2 separate regions of the Homo sapiens genome follow, and region 1 is linked to region 2. Evidence: promoter capture Hi-C in human tissues and cell types (Jung and others, 2019). All regions are on one chromosome and are shown on one strand. The core of a region is centred on a gene start or on the middle of the fragment in contact, and the rest is flanking DNA. Distances in the headings are between cores, read along the strand shown.

Region 1 (6,025 bases), core at 3,512-6,011, 53 kb before region 2:
TGCATTCTTTTTTTTTTTTTTTTTTTTTGAGACAAAGTCTCGCTCTGTCACCCAGGCTGGAGTGTGGTGGTGCCATCTCGGCTCACTGCAAGCTCCGCCTCCTGGGTTCATGCCATTCTCCTGCCTCAGCCTCCCGAGTAGCTGGGACTACAGGCACCTGCCACCACGCCCGGCTAATTTTTTTTGTATTTTTAGTAGAGACGGGGTTTCACCATGTTAGCCAGGATGGTCTCTATCTCCTGACCTCTTGATCCTCCTGCCTCAGCCTCCCAAAATGCTGGGATTGCAGTTGTGAGCCACTGCGCCCGGCCGTCTGTGCATTCTTGAACCTGGAGAGAGCTCCCTTCTTTCTGACCCAGGAGTGACTTCTGCACCTTCTGCATTTCGGAGAAGCCTCACCAGGCTGCAGAAATAACCTGCTTTATTTGTGCTTCCCTTAGCGGATACTACAGTATTATCTCAGTAGTGGTTTGCAAATTTTAGCTTGCATGGGAATCATCTGGAAAGCTTCTGAAAAATGGAGATTGCTGGACCCCATCCCAGAGTTTCTGATTCAGTAGGTCTGCATGAGGCTTGCAAATTTGCATGTCTACCGAGTTCCCAGGTAATGCTGATGCTGCTGTTCTGGGGACCACAATTTAAGAACACTTGTATCGGCTGGGCACGGTGGCTCACGCCTGTAATCCCAGCACTTTGGGAGGCCAAGGCACGTGGATCATGAGGTCAGGAGATCGAGACCATCCTGGCTAACACAGTGAAATCCTGTCTCTACTAAAAATACAAAAAATTAGCCGGTCATGGTGGTGGGCGCCTGTAGTCCCAGCTACTCGGGAGGCTGAGGCAGGAGAATGGCGTGAACCCGGGAGGCGGAGCTTGCAGTGAGCGGAGATTGCGCCACTGCACTCCAGCATGGGCGATAGAGTGAGACTCCATCTCAAAAAAAAAAAAGAACACTTGCATTACAGGAATGTCTCCAGGACAGCATTTCCTTAACCATGTCCATTTGGTTAGACACACTAGCTTTCTTGCCGTCCCAATGAAAGGTATGGAGTCCCTAGCTTCAAGTCCTGGCTGTGCCACTAATTCCATTAGTGAACATAACAGCTATGGATTGAGTTGGCTGCATATAAGCGGAAAACCCAAATAACAATGACTTATTCAAGAGATTTATTTTTGTTTCACGTGAGATAAAATGCAGAGGTAGGTGATCCAGGGTAATTGTGGTAGGTCCAAGATGTCAGCAATATTCCAGATTTTTAACTTTCTGGTCTACTGCCTTTAATTTGTGGCTTTCATCATCAAGACTGCCTCATAGGCATAGAATGGACAACTCTGACCTTTGTGCTTGAATTCTAGAAAAAGAAAGGGGGAAAAAGCAAAGGTTTAGACCAAGCTTGTCTAACCCATGGGCTGCATGCAGCCTGACAGCTTTGAATGTGGCCCATCACAAATTCATAAACTTTCTTAAAACATTATGAGATTTTTTTAGGATTGTTTTCTCTTAGCTCATTAGTTATTGTTAGTGTTAATGTATTTTACGTGTGGCCCAAGACAATTCTTCTTCCACTGTGGCCCAGGGAAGCCAAAAGATTGGACACTCTGGTTTAGACCTTCTTTTAAGGGGATTTTTCTGGAAGCCACACTTATATCTCCACTCTTACTTACATGTCATTAGCCAGAACTTAGTCCATGACCACCTTTCTCTCACAGGGAGGCTGGGAAATGTAGTTTTTCTAATTGAGCATATGACCACCACCAACAAAATTTGGGTTCTGATTATAAGTATCTATTCTTTACTACTAGTTAGAATGAAGAAGAGAATGGCTGTTGCTAATTCTAACTACTAGTAACAAGTAGTTCCTACCACAATGACCCTGGGCAAGTGTCTTCCACTTTTGGGCTCTATCTCTCCCAATGTAAAATAAAGTTGGTCTTAATGATCAAAGAGATCCTATCCAACTATAAGGCAGTTCGATTCCATGGTTCTGTCCCTAAATATGTTTATCAGTGATGCTCAGTGGAAAGGAAAACAACCTGGGTATTGTCCTCATGCAGTACCCCTAGTGTGCTCAGCCTGATGAGATGTCAGAACATATCCTGTACTTGTCTGTCTATTCATCCATCTACCTGTTAAAAATACATTTTTTTTGAGATGGAGTTTCACTTTTGTTGCCCAAGCTGGAGGGCAATGGCATGATCTCGGCTCACTGCAACTTCTGCCTCCTGGGTTCAAGCGATTCTCTTGTCTCAGCTTGTGGGTAGCTGGGATTACAGGCGCCCACTACCACGCCTGGCTATTTTTTTTTTGTATTTTTAGTAGAGACAGGGTTTCACCATGTTGGCCAGGCTGGTCTCAAACTCCTGACTTCAGGTGATCCACCTGCCTCCACCTCCCAAAGTGCTGGGAATATAGGCATGAGCCACCGCACCAGGCCCCTGTTAAAAATATTTCTGAGTACTACTACCTGATAAGTACTAAGGATACAGCTGTGAGTTTAAGCAGACATTGTCCCTGCTCTCCCTGTCCTCTTAGCAGTTTAGTAGGTAAGACAGATATAAACAAATAATGATGCAAATGTTCAACAAAGTGCTATAATGAATGTTGATGTACTACACAAGCGTTATAAAGAAAATGTATGTTGGGGGGTGTAATTTAGGTGGGGTGGAAAAGAAGATTTTCCCAAGAATTTATTTTGAAGCTGACACCTGAAGGAGGGGTCAGACATGCAAAGAGTCAGAGAAAGTGCACTCTAGGCAGAGAGAACAGCAAGTTCAGACACAGGCCCTGAGGCAGGAAAGAGCTGGGCTCATTCTAGGAAATGAAGGATGGCCAGGGTGTCCAGACATCATCAGTGAGGGGGAGGCTGATATGTAATGAGGCTGGAGTAGTCAGTGGATACCACAGCTTGCAGGGCCATGTAAGCTCTGGGAGGGAAATTTGATTTTATTCTAAGGGTAGTGGGAAGGCATTGGCGTGTTTCAGGCAGAGGTGGGGGCAAGGGTGACATGATGAGATGTGCATCTTCACAAAGATTTCTCTAGATGCTGAATAGGACCTGAACAGGTTTGGATGGGGGTGGTAGTGAGCAGTGGTCACATTGAGAGTTGTATGGGTTTCACCCATCCATTCACTCATCCATCAACCTATTCATCCACCCATCCATCTTTTCATCCATTTATCTTTTCACCCATCCACCCATCCATCCATCCACCCACTCATCCATCCATTGAACCATCCACCTATCCATCCATCCATCCATCCATCTGTCCGTCCATCTGTCCATCCATCCGTCCATCCATCCATCCATCCATCCATCCATCCATCCATCCATCCGTCTGTCCGTCCATCTGTCCATCTGTCCATCCATCCATCCATCCATCTATTCATCCGTCAATCTACCCATTCATTCATTCAACCATTCACCTATCCATCTATCCATCTACCCATTCATCCTTTCATCCATCCATCCAACCATCATCCACCTACCCATTCAACAAACATTCATAAAGCATCTTTAACTGCCAGCTTCTCCACTACATGTGTTGGGTGAATAAGATGGTTCATTTTCTCAAGGAGTTTACCAGTTAGAAAGGTAGAGAGACACACATAAACAAACCATCATGGTTGAGTGCAGGTCCTAACAGCAGTAAGCTCTAAGAAGGGTGGGAAGAGATTCTTAGCAGTGGTGAACTGTTTGCCTAGTGCCAATGGCAGGTGAAAAGCCACCATGTGATTCACCGCTCTGGCTGCCAAGAGTGAGGACTTTTCTGGGTCACAGGGAAATAAACACATTTTAGGGCAACAGCAAGACAAGGGGAAGTAACAGCCTTGGAATTTAGCTTGGGGTTAAACAAAAAAATCTTGGGAGATGCTAGGATGTAGACACATCCAGAATGGATGGAATTATCCCATGAATCTATTCTATGGTGTCCTCAGCATGAGTTTGAAGATTCCTTGTTGGCATCTCATTGATTTATTGGCTGGATTCTGGCAGCTGTTGGTGAGAGCAAGATTGACTGCTCCAGGCATGAAACAAACCATAGAGGAACAAGTTCAAACTCTTTTCAGCTGTATGCAAACAACTTAACCTCTCTGAGCCTTAGCTGCTTCAACTCTAAAATGGTAAATAGCATTGAGCTTGAGAAACCCTGGAATAAGATGGCTGAAGCCTAAGTTCAGTAACTGGTTCATTGTTAGTGGACCTGAGAAACTGACAGGATAGATGCAGCTAGGGTTGAAAAGGCACATAATATAATGGTTAACGGTGTGGACAGTGGAACCTTGCCTCCTAGATTCAAATCTTCCAATTTTCTCTTCTTTCTGTTCCACTTGCATCTGTAAACCATGTGCCCAGTCATGGCCCCACAGCTGGGCAACGCCATTATGTACTCCTTTGACCACGGCTCCAAGACCTTCAGAGCATCTTGTGAGGCTCTTCTCTCCAGCAGATGAAGGGTTATTATCCTCCCTTAGATTTGGTAACTGAGGCCCAAAGGAATCAAGAACTTTGGCCAAGCACGAGTCCCCATTTTACAAAGGGAGAAACAGCCTCAGAGAGTTTCAGTAATGAATGCAAGTCCACAATGCTAGTAAGTGAATGAGCTGGGATTTGAACCCAGACCTATCTAGCTCCAGAATCCTTCTTTCATGGAGTTCAAGTCTACCAGAAGGAGGGGAGGAATTGAAACAGATGATAGATAAGTAGATGAGTAAGTAAGTCTAACGATTATAAAAATAATTATAAGATCTGCGAAGAAAGTAAACTGGCTGGTGTGATAGAGAGGAAATGGGAGAAGAGCAATCTTTTTCAATCGGGAGATCAGGGAAAGACTCCCAGAAGGGAGGTAATAAACCCTAAAACCATTCTTGGTAATGCATGTAGTGCATGCAGTATGATATTTGGCACCTAGAAAGTTCCAATAATTGGTAGTCATTATTAAGGAAAGTGAAATGCTTTCTCAAAGATAATTGTAAAATCAAAGGGATAGTGTGTGTTTTGTCCTACTTCCAACATCTAGAGCCTTTCTCTCATGGAATAGGAGGGAGGAGAAAACTGAGGGCAGTGATAGGCTTGGCAAACAGGGGCCTTGGCCGGCTCAAAGCTTCAGCACCTGGGGCCAGCTGCCTCATTCAGTGCTTGGCAACGCCCCCGCAGAGTGGAGAATGCCAAGAGGGTAAGTGTCATCTCCGCTCTCCACGCAGTAGCTGTGTGACCTTGGGCAAGTCACATCTCCTGTCTGGGCATCTGTTTGTTCATCTGTAAAATGAAGGTTTCGGTCTAGATGGGTTTTTCAGATCCCTTCCAGCTCTAATTCTGTGTCATCTGAACTCTGACCAACGCCTCCCTCCTTCCGCGGACGTGTTCCCACAGTGCCCTCTATTGGCTGTTTAGTAGAGAGCAGGTACCACACATGCAGCTCCGGGGACCGGGAGAAATGGGAACTGCCAGCTGCCCTTCTTCTGTGAGGGATTTAGAACCCTTGGGGCACATCAGGATCCGCACACAGGATAAGAGTTAGGCAGTCTGACTTCCTAGAGTCACAGAATTTTGGAAAGGGAGACTTAAAGACTATTTATTGCAACAACAGCAGTATTAGCTAACATTTGTTTAGGGCTAACCATTTACTGAACATGGGCTTGATACTGTGCATAAAGTCATGAGTATAACAGGCACAGGGCCGTCCTGAGGGTAGTAACGTGTACACGGAGACCCAAAGAGTGAGGACTTGCCCATGTGAAGATCAGCTGGAAAGACTGTAACAGCCAAGAGAATAGCATGTGCAAAGGTCCTGGAGGAGAAAAAGACAAGGGTGTGTTTGGAACCAAAGGAAGTAGAGTCAATTGTTACTAGATACTGGAGGCTAAAGAATCTTGGAATGTGAAAACCATGATGACTGGTGGAGTTACAATCACTTTGTAAAACTGCTTAGCAGTATTTACCAAAGCTGAATATATACACTTCAGGAAGATGAGCTTATGCGCTCACCAAAAAGGCATAAATAAGAAAGCAGCATGCTTACCAGT
Region 2 (6,794 bases), core at 1,559-4,058:
CTGTTGTTTATTAAGCAATTACTATATGCCAGGCAATAGGATGTGCACTTTTCACTCACTATCTTGTTGAATACTTCCCAAGGGCCTCGTGAGGTCAGTTTTTTATGTATCCTTATTTTAAAGATGAGGAGACTGAGGTTCAGAGGGATTAAGCCCCTTACTCCTTTGGTAAGAAGTAGAACCAGGATAAAAACGCAGATGGCAGGACCACAAAATATGTGCTTTTAACCAGGACACCGCAATAGTATTCATCGTGCCCCAACGTACTCCAGGGAGAAAATGAAAGTGGGGTGACAGCAAATCTCAACCCAATGGAATGACCTCTTAAAGTTGAAAGGGAAGGTGTTTGGATCCTCCTGCATGGGTTCAAATCTCCTATGTGATAGAGTATGTTTCTGACTTCCAATAAAGGGCCTGCAGGCCTTAGAGATGTTCTAGCCCCTTGCTTTTCAATGTGTACTCCAGGGACCCCAGTATGAGCATCGCCTGGAAGCTTGTTAAAAATTCAGCATCTCAGGTCCTACTGCAGATCTGCTGAACCAGAATATGCACTTTAGCAAAATTTCTAAGTCAGTCCTGTGCATATTGAGTCTAAGAAATGGACTTAGAATGAAGACAATGCAAGTCTCAAGTGCGATAGGAGGATTGAGATCACCTCTGACAGGTGCTACATTGCTTCCCCCACACATTCACACATACACGTGCATACACACATATACAACGCACACACACTTTTCACTTACTTGCTTCTGAGGTGTCAGTGGCTGCAGTTGTGATGAACCAAGAGGCCACCACCACCATCAGCATCCAAGTCAGAGATGGCTGCCCCATCCTTTCTGCTCTTCCCGCTACTTCAGGTCTAGATAGCACCTGCCCAAAGGAAAGACGGGTTGGCCCTTTGAATTTTTCTCTCTGTCTCTGATGTCTGGTGTCCTGTGAACAGAGATGGATGGGACAAATGCATGATCTAACTCTCCTCCCCACAGCTGGAAGGAGTGCTTTGATTGTATAGTATACAACTCCAGGAGGTGTCACTTATATGGACTAAAAAATTGCATAACACTGCAGCCCTTGTTTTGCTGGGACTTTACCCCTTGTACTCCCCCTCCTTACCTCACCAACATCCCAGTCTTGGCTCCCCAATTCTCAGCACATTGCACATTTTGAAGAACTCAGTCATTTGGAGCAGGAAGTAGCCAGATGGAATAGTGTTCTGGACTCACCACTTTACTGAAGGCAGCTTTGGATTTTAACTGATCCTCTGCCTGGAAACTTTCAATTTGCCTGGATCACTTATTCATTCAACAAACATCTATTGAGTAGCTACATTGTGCCAAACAGGGAGCTAGTCACCATGGAGAACAATGAACATGGCAGTCTGCTCCTTCATGCAACTCACATATCGTAAAGAAGTGGCTTGAGACGAGCAACTTGAGAGGTAATTAACCTTCACAATGCATTTAAATGTTTCTGGAGTGGTCACTTACTATTTCTTCCAATTGGAAAAATAGTCCAGGGTGGATGCCAGTATTACCCCAGTGTTTATAGCAGCAAAATAGGGTGGCATGTTGGTTAAGTATGTAGGAGCTGCAGCCTGCACCTGAGGTTCAAATCCCTGCTTTACTGATCACTAACACTGTGATGTGGGTATTTCAGTTTACTAAGTCTCCGTTTTTGTCTGTGAAATGGAGATTGTTGCTTTCACAAACTGAATATCTATGATGGGCCAGGCTCAGTTCAAAGACATTCATGTGCTCAAAGGCATTGGGTCCTAGAGCAACGTTTTCCAGATCTTCGTGACCATGATGTACTAAAAGAAAAACATTTTATGTTGCCAGGTGCAGTGGCTCATGCCTGTAATCCCAACACTTTGGGAGACTGAGGGGGTGGATCACAAGGTCAGGAGTTTGAGACCAGCCTGGCCAGCATGGTGAAACCCCATCTCTAATAAAAATACAAAAATTAGCCGGGCATGGTGGTGGGCGCCTGTAATCCCAGCTACTCGGGAGGCTGAGACAGGAGGATTGCTTGAACCTGGGAGGCAGAGGTTGCAGTGAGCTGAGATCGTGCCACTGCACTCCTGCCTGGGTGACAGAGAGTCCATCCCCCCCCCCCAAAAAAAAAAAGACAGAAAGAAAGAAAAACATTTTATGTCATGATCTAGTGCAGTCGCTTCTGCATGTATGTGCACACACACATAAAATTTTATAAGACAATTGATATCCTTACTACATTAAGTGATTTAATTCTTACCACAACCCTATGAGATAAGTATTATCCTAGTTTGCAGATGAGAAAACAGGGGGACAAAGAGGCTAACTGCTTGCCTCAAATTTGTATTGCTTACTGACATATTCTATTATATTTAATTAAAAGAAGTCCCTGGATATAACCCACAAAAGGAATGATTTTATGACCCGCTAATAAGATGCGACCTAAAACACTGCATATTGTCACTGGGATTAACTAAGATGACATATGTCGAGCAGGGCCCAGCACATAGCAAGTTGTTCATTGTTGTAACCCTGGTACCTGGCACATAATAGGTGCATAACTAATATTCATGGAATAAGTCAAAAAATAGTAGTCATTGTTACTAGGACAGAGAGGATCAAAGAGAGGAAAACTAACTTACTAAAGATCATGAAGCCAATAATTGGCAGAATAATGACTCAAATCCAGGTCTGACCCCAGTGTCCAAGGTCTTAATTTCCTCTCCTACCTCCCTCAAATAGGATGGGGAGAAGCTGGGCTAGGAGAAGACAGCTACAGATAGCCTTACCTGAAGCCAGAAAGGTAGAGTTAGTCTGGTCATGATGTGCCTCATACTTATATATACACATTTGCCCCAGGCTGGCAATCTCTCCTCCAATTAGTCTCTAGTTCTGTTTTTTGATATTGTTTTCTTGGGGGTGGAATATTTTTTCCTCCTGGCATAATGTTTGCCTTGTCCAAGCTGTGAGGTTGTTGTTGTTCTTTTTCCTAATAGCTAGAGACCCCAAATGATTGACATTGGGGGGTCACACCTGTGCCCGGAAATACAAGGTCACTGTTTCGCACCTTCTAACAGCAAGAGATTCCATAGTTAGAAATTAACTGGGAAAGCAGTGCCAAGGTGCTGGGCTTCTTCTTGGTCACTGACAAGGGCAGGGTGGGATCAAGGAGCCAGGCAGAAGCCAGTATCTGAAGCCAGGCTGCATAAGGACAAAAGGGATATTCACTGCCCCAGATGGGAGGTGCACCTGTCTTGGAGAGGGCACCCTTCTGAAACACCCATTCTCATGAGATCAGCCTTAGAATCCAGACACAAGCAAGAGAGGAGCTGAGAATGGCTGAAAGTCAGAACCAGAAGGTAGTTCAGACATCACTGGACCTGACCCACTCTGTACAACAAAGAATCAGGTCTGATGACTGGGAGGTCCCTTTGGAGGCGAAATAAATTTGCACTTAAATAGACTGACTTTGGAGTCAGTCTGCCTCCTTTATCTGGTGTTTATTGTGTGGCAGTGGGCTCATTTCTTAACCTTCCTGAGGTCCAGAGGTCAATTTCCTTGTCTATAAAATGAGAATACCCATCTCCCACAGTAGTAATAGTAACCAAAGGAGATGATGCAAGTAAAGTCATATAGTAATGATTATATTCATGGAAGTAGTGAAAATTCTGCTTTGCTGTTGTGCAATCACTGAGGTAGAAAATGACAGAGCCTGAGTTAAAACCATGTCTTCAGACCCAGTTCAACATACATGACATTCCAAAAGTCAGTGTGAGAGTGGCTGTCATCATGTTGAGAAAAATAAAATATGTGTGAACTTGGGCTGAGCAGGAAAATATCACCATGATCACTGCATTGATCTTTTTTTTTTTTATACTTTAAGTTTTAGGGTACAAGTGCACAACGTGCAGGTTTGTTACATATGTATACATGTGCCATGTTGATGTGCTGCACCCATTAACTTGTCATTTACATTAGGTATAACTCCTAATGCTATCCCTCCCCGCTCCCCGCATCCCACAATAGGCCCCTGGGTGTGATGTTCCCCTTCCTGTGTCCAAGTGCTCTCATTGTTCAATTCCCACCTGTGAGTGAGAACATGCGGTGTTTGGTTTTTTGTCCTTGCGATAGTTTGCTGAGAATGATGGTTTCCATCTTCATCCATGTCCCTACAAAGGACATGAACTCATATTTTTTATGGCTGCATAGTATTCCACGGTGTATATGTGCCACATTTTCTTAATCCAGTCTATCATTGATGGACATTTGAGTTGGTTCCAAGTCTTTGCTATTGTGAATTGCTCTTTTCAGGACATTTCTCCATCCTGTCCCACTCAGTGGTAGGGTAACCACTGGCACTGGTGTTGTCATCTCCTCAGGATTATGTCCAAGGAGTGGAAATTCTGGGTCAAAGAGGTAGCACAGCTGTAGGAATATTGACTCCTCTTCCCAAACAGCACCCCAGAGAATTATTATAAATTGGTTTACAATCCCACCAACACTACTCACCAGTTCTGAGCATTGGTAACTTGCTTTCATCTTTGCCAAAAGGATAAGTGGAAACGATCTCATTATTGTTCATTTTTGCAATTCTTTGATGAAAAGGGAAGTTATCTCTTCATTTATTTACTTTTTTTTTTCTGAACTAGTCGTTTTTATCCTATACCTTTTTCATGAGGCCTTGTCTAAACCTTATTATGGGTGTCTTCAAAGGATTAAAGACAGTGACCCCAGGTGGCTTCTGGAGTTTTCTTGACAAAGACTTGGGCAGGAAAATGGGGAGTTTGGGTTGGAATCTATTCATAAGTGTAATCACCATGCTTTCTAGTTTCTGTATTTGGTGCTTGTACATTTTGGGGCCTTACTGATCATGGAGGGACTGCCCCTCCCAGGGCTCAATAATTACTAGAGATCAAAAACGACTTATCTGTGAATGTGCCTTTCCGACTGCAAATCAATCAATCCAGACCACATACCCCCAACCCTTGGCCTCCTTTTTGGGGCTTTTACACTTAGGGTCACTACTTGCTGCTTTAGATCACCCCAAGGGACCAGGTACCAGACAACTAGAGACAACTCCTATGGCCCAGAGGTCTCTGAAATTATTCAAACTAAGCCAATCCTAAATCTGCTTACCTTGCCTCTCCCATTCCTTCCTGCAGAAACTACAATAAAGGCTCTTTCCTGCCTTTTCCCTTGCTCTCTTTGCTTCCTGACCGACCCTGGTACTTCCCAGCAGCTCTTCCTCTCCCTTCAGCCCCTCTGCCCAGTGTGGTGTGTCCCCTTCTCTTGGGATCTGTGAGTATAACAAGTTGTCAGTGGCCATAATTTCCTGCTCTGTTGCTCATCAAGTTCACCAAAGACATCCATGTTACCAAATTCAATCAATATTTTTCTCTTTATCTTACCTCTAGGACAGTGCACAATAAATATTTGTTTTTGAACGAACCTTAATCTCTCAGCACTTCGCTCTTGAAACACTCTTCTTTCTTTCTTTCTTTTTCTTCTTCTTTTTTTTTTTTTTAATGGAGTCTTGCTCTGTCACCCAGGTTGGAGTGCAGTGGCTCAGTCTTGGCTCACTGCAACCTCCACCTCCCAAGTTCAAGTGATTCTCTTGAATCCTTGAATCCTCAGCCTCCCGAGTAGCTGGGATTACAGGTGCATACCACCATGCCCGGCTAATTTGTGTTTTTTTTGTACACATTGGCCAGGCTGGTCTCGAACTCCTGACCTCAGGTAATCTGCCTGCCTCGGCCTCCCAAAGTGCTGGGATTACAGACATGAGCCACCACAACCAGCCTGAAACACTTTTCTCTCTTAACTTTCAAACATGGGTAGGAGACTTGATCTTAATAATGCTGAGAACAATCACCCACTGAGCACTTCTCTTGGGTCAGACACTGTGCTCAGTGCTTTTGCCTCCATTGTCTCAAACAATGAAACACAACAACCCACGTCACAGGGAAGAAGACAAGTTCAGAGAGGTGGAGTAACTCCCCCAAGATTACACAGCTAGCGAGTGTTAAATCCAGACTAAAACTCAAATCTCACTCAGATTTACCTGCATTCCTTGGGTTACAGAACATTCCATGCTCAGCCATGACAGGGTCTTAGAAGGATAAGTGGTTTTAGGTAGTTTTGGAAAGAGTGAAACTAAAGGGTGGAGAGTTTTGAAAAATTGATCAAACAGAACACAAAAACTTAGAATGAGAGGTTGGTGTGTGTCAGAAAGCGGCAAAAAATGAGCCAAGGGAGAAGATCCCCCAAAAGAGGGGTATTACCTGTCCCACCTACCTCTCTGAGCACACACCTCCTGAGGCTCCAGTTACGCCTGGGGGACCTGGAGGTGGCACACCCATTCTCTGGCTCGTGGCCTGTCAGGGGCTCTATGCCACATGATCTAGTCTAGGCAGCCCCCCGTAACCCTCCTTCAACTGGCAGCCACATGACCTCAAGGCCGAGGCAGGTGAGCCTTACACCGTGTCCTGAATACTAACACCTGCTCCTGTTGGGGAATTCGGCTCAGGTGAGTTCCAGAGCCGCAGGCTGTTCCCTGCTTCCTCTGGTTGTGGACAGGCCAGGTTCAGGGTGAGGGGCATGGGAGCTGTCTCTGGAGGTATGAGAAAGCACAAATAGCCTTTGCCTTACATGACAGGTGAGGAGTGGAGAGACCCAGGTGGTTTCTAGAGACCTCAATTTCTAAAAGAATGCTGCCCTTCTTTTCTCAAGAGAAGGCCTGGCTGAAATGAATGACACAAATCCATGAGTTAAATCTGTGGTAGGCTGAATAATGACCCCCAA

The links. The method cuts DNA at HindIII sites, captures the fragments that hold promoters and counts their contacts. A contact is called where the count stands out against the background at its distance.
Region 1: a contact is called between a fragment that was not itself captured here and the fragment with the promoter of UMOD in region 2, in 6 of the 25 tissues and cell types used here (adrenal gland, bladder, dorsolateral prefrontal cortex and 3 more).

Annotation. Positions count from the first base shown.
Region 1 is chr16:20,295,273-20,301,297 of GRCh38, forward strand. No RefSeq gene overlaps it. Among named protein-coding and RNA genes, the nearest start is that of GP2, 29 kb to the right of the region's middle. The HindIII fragment of the contact is 7,623 bases long and covers 951-6,025 here.
Region 2 is chr16:20,349,907-20,356,700 of GRCh38, forward strand. UMOD (uromodulin) reads right to left here and starts at 2,809. Exons shown (of 11, transcript NM_003361.4): 1 at 2,783-2,809; 2 at 744-933. The coding sequence starts at 831. The HindIII fragment of the contact is 15,409 bases long and covers 1-6,794 here.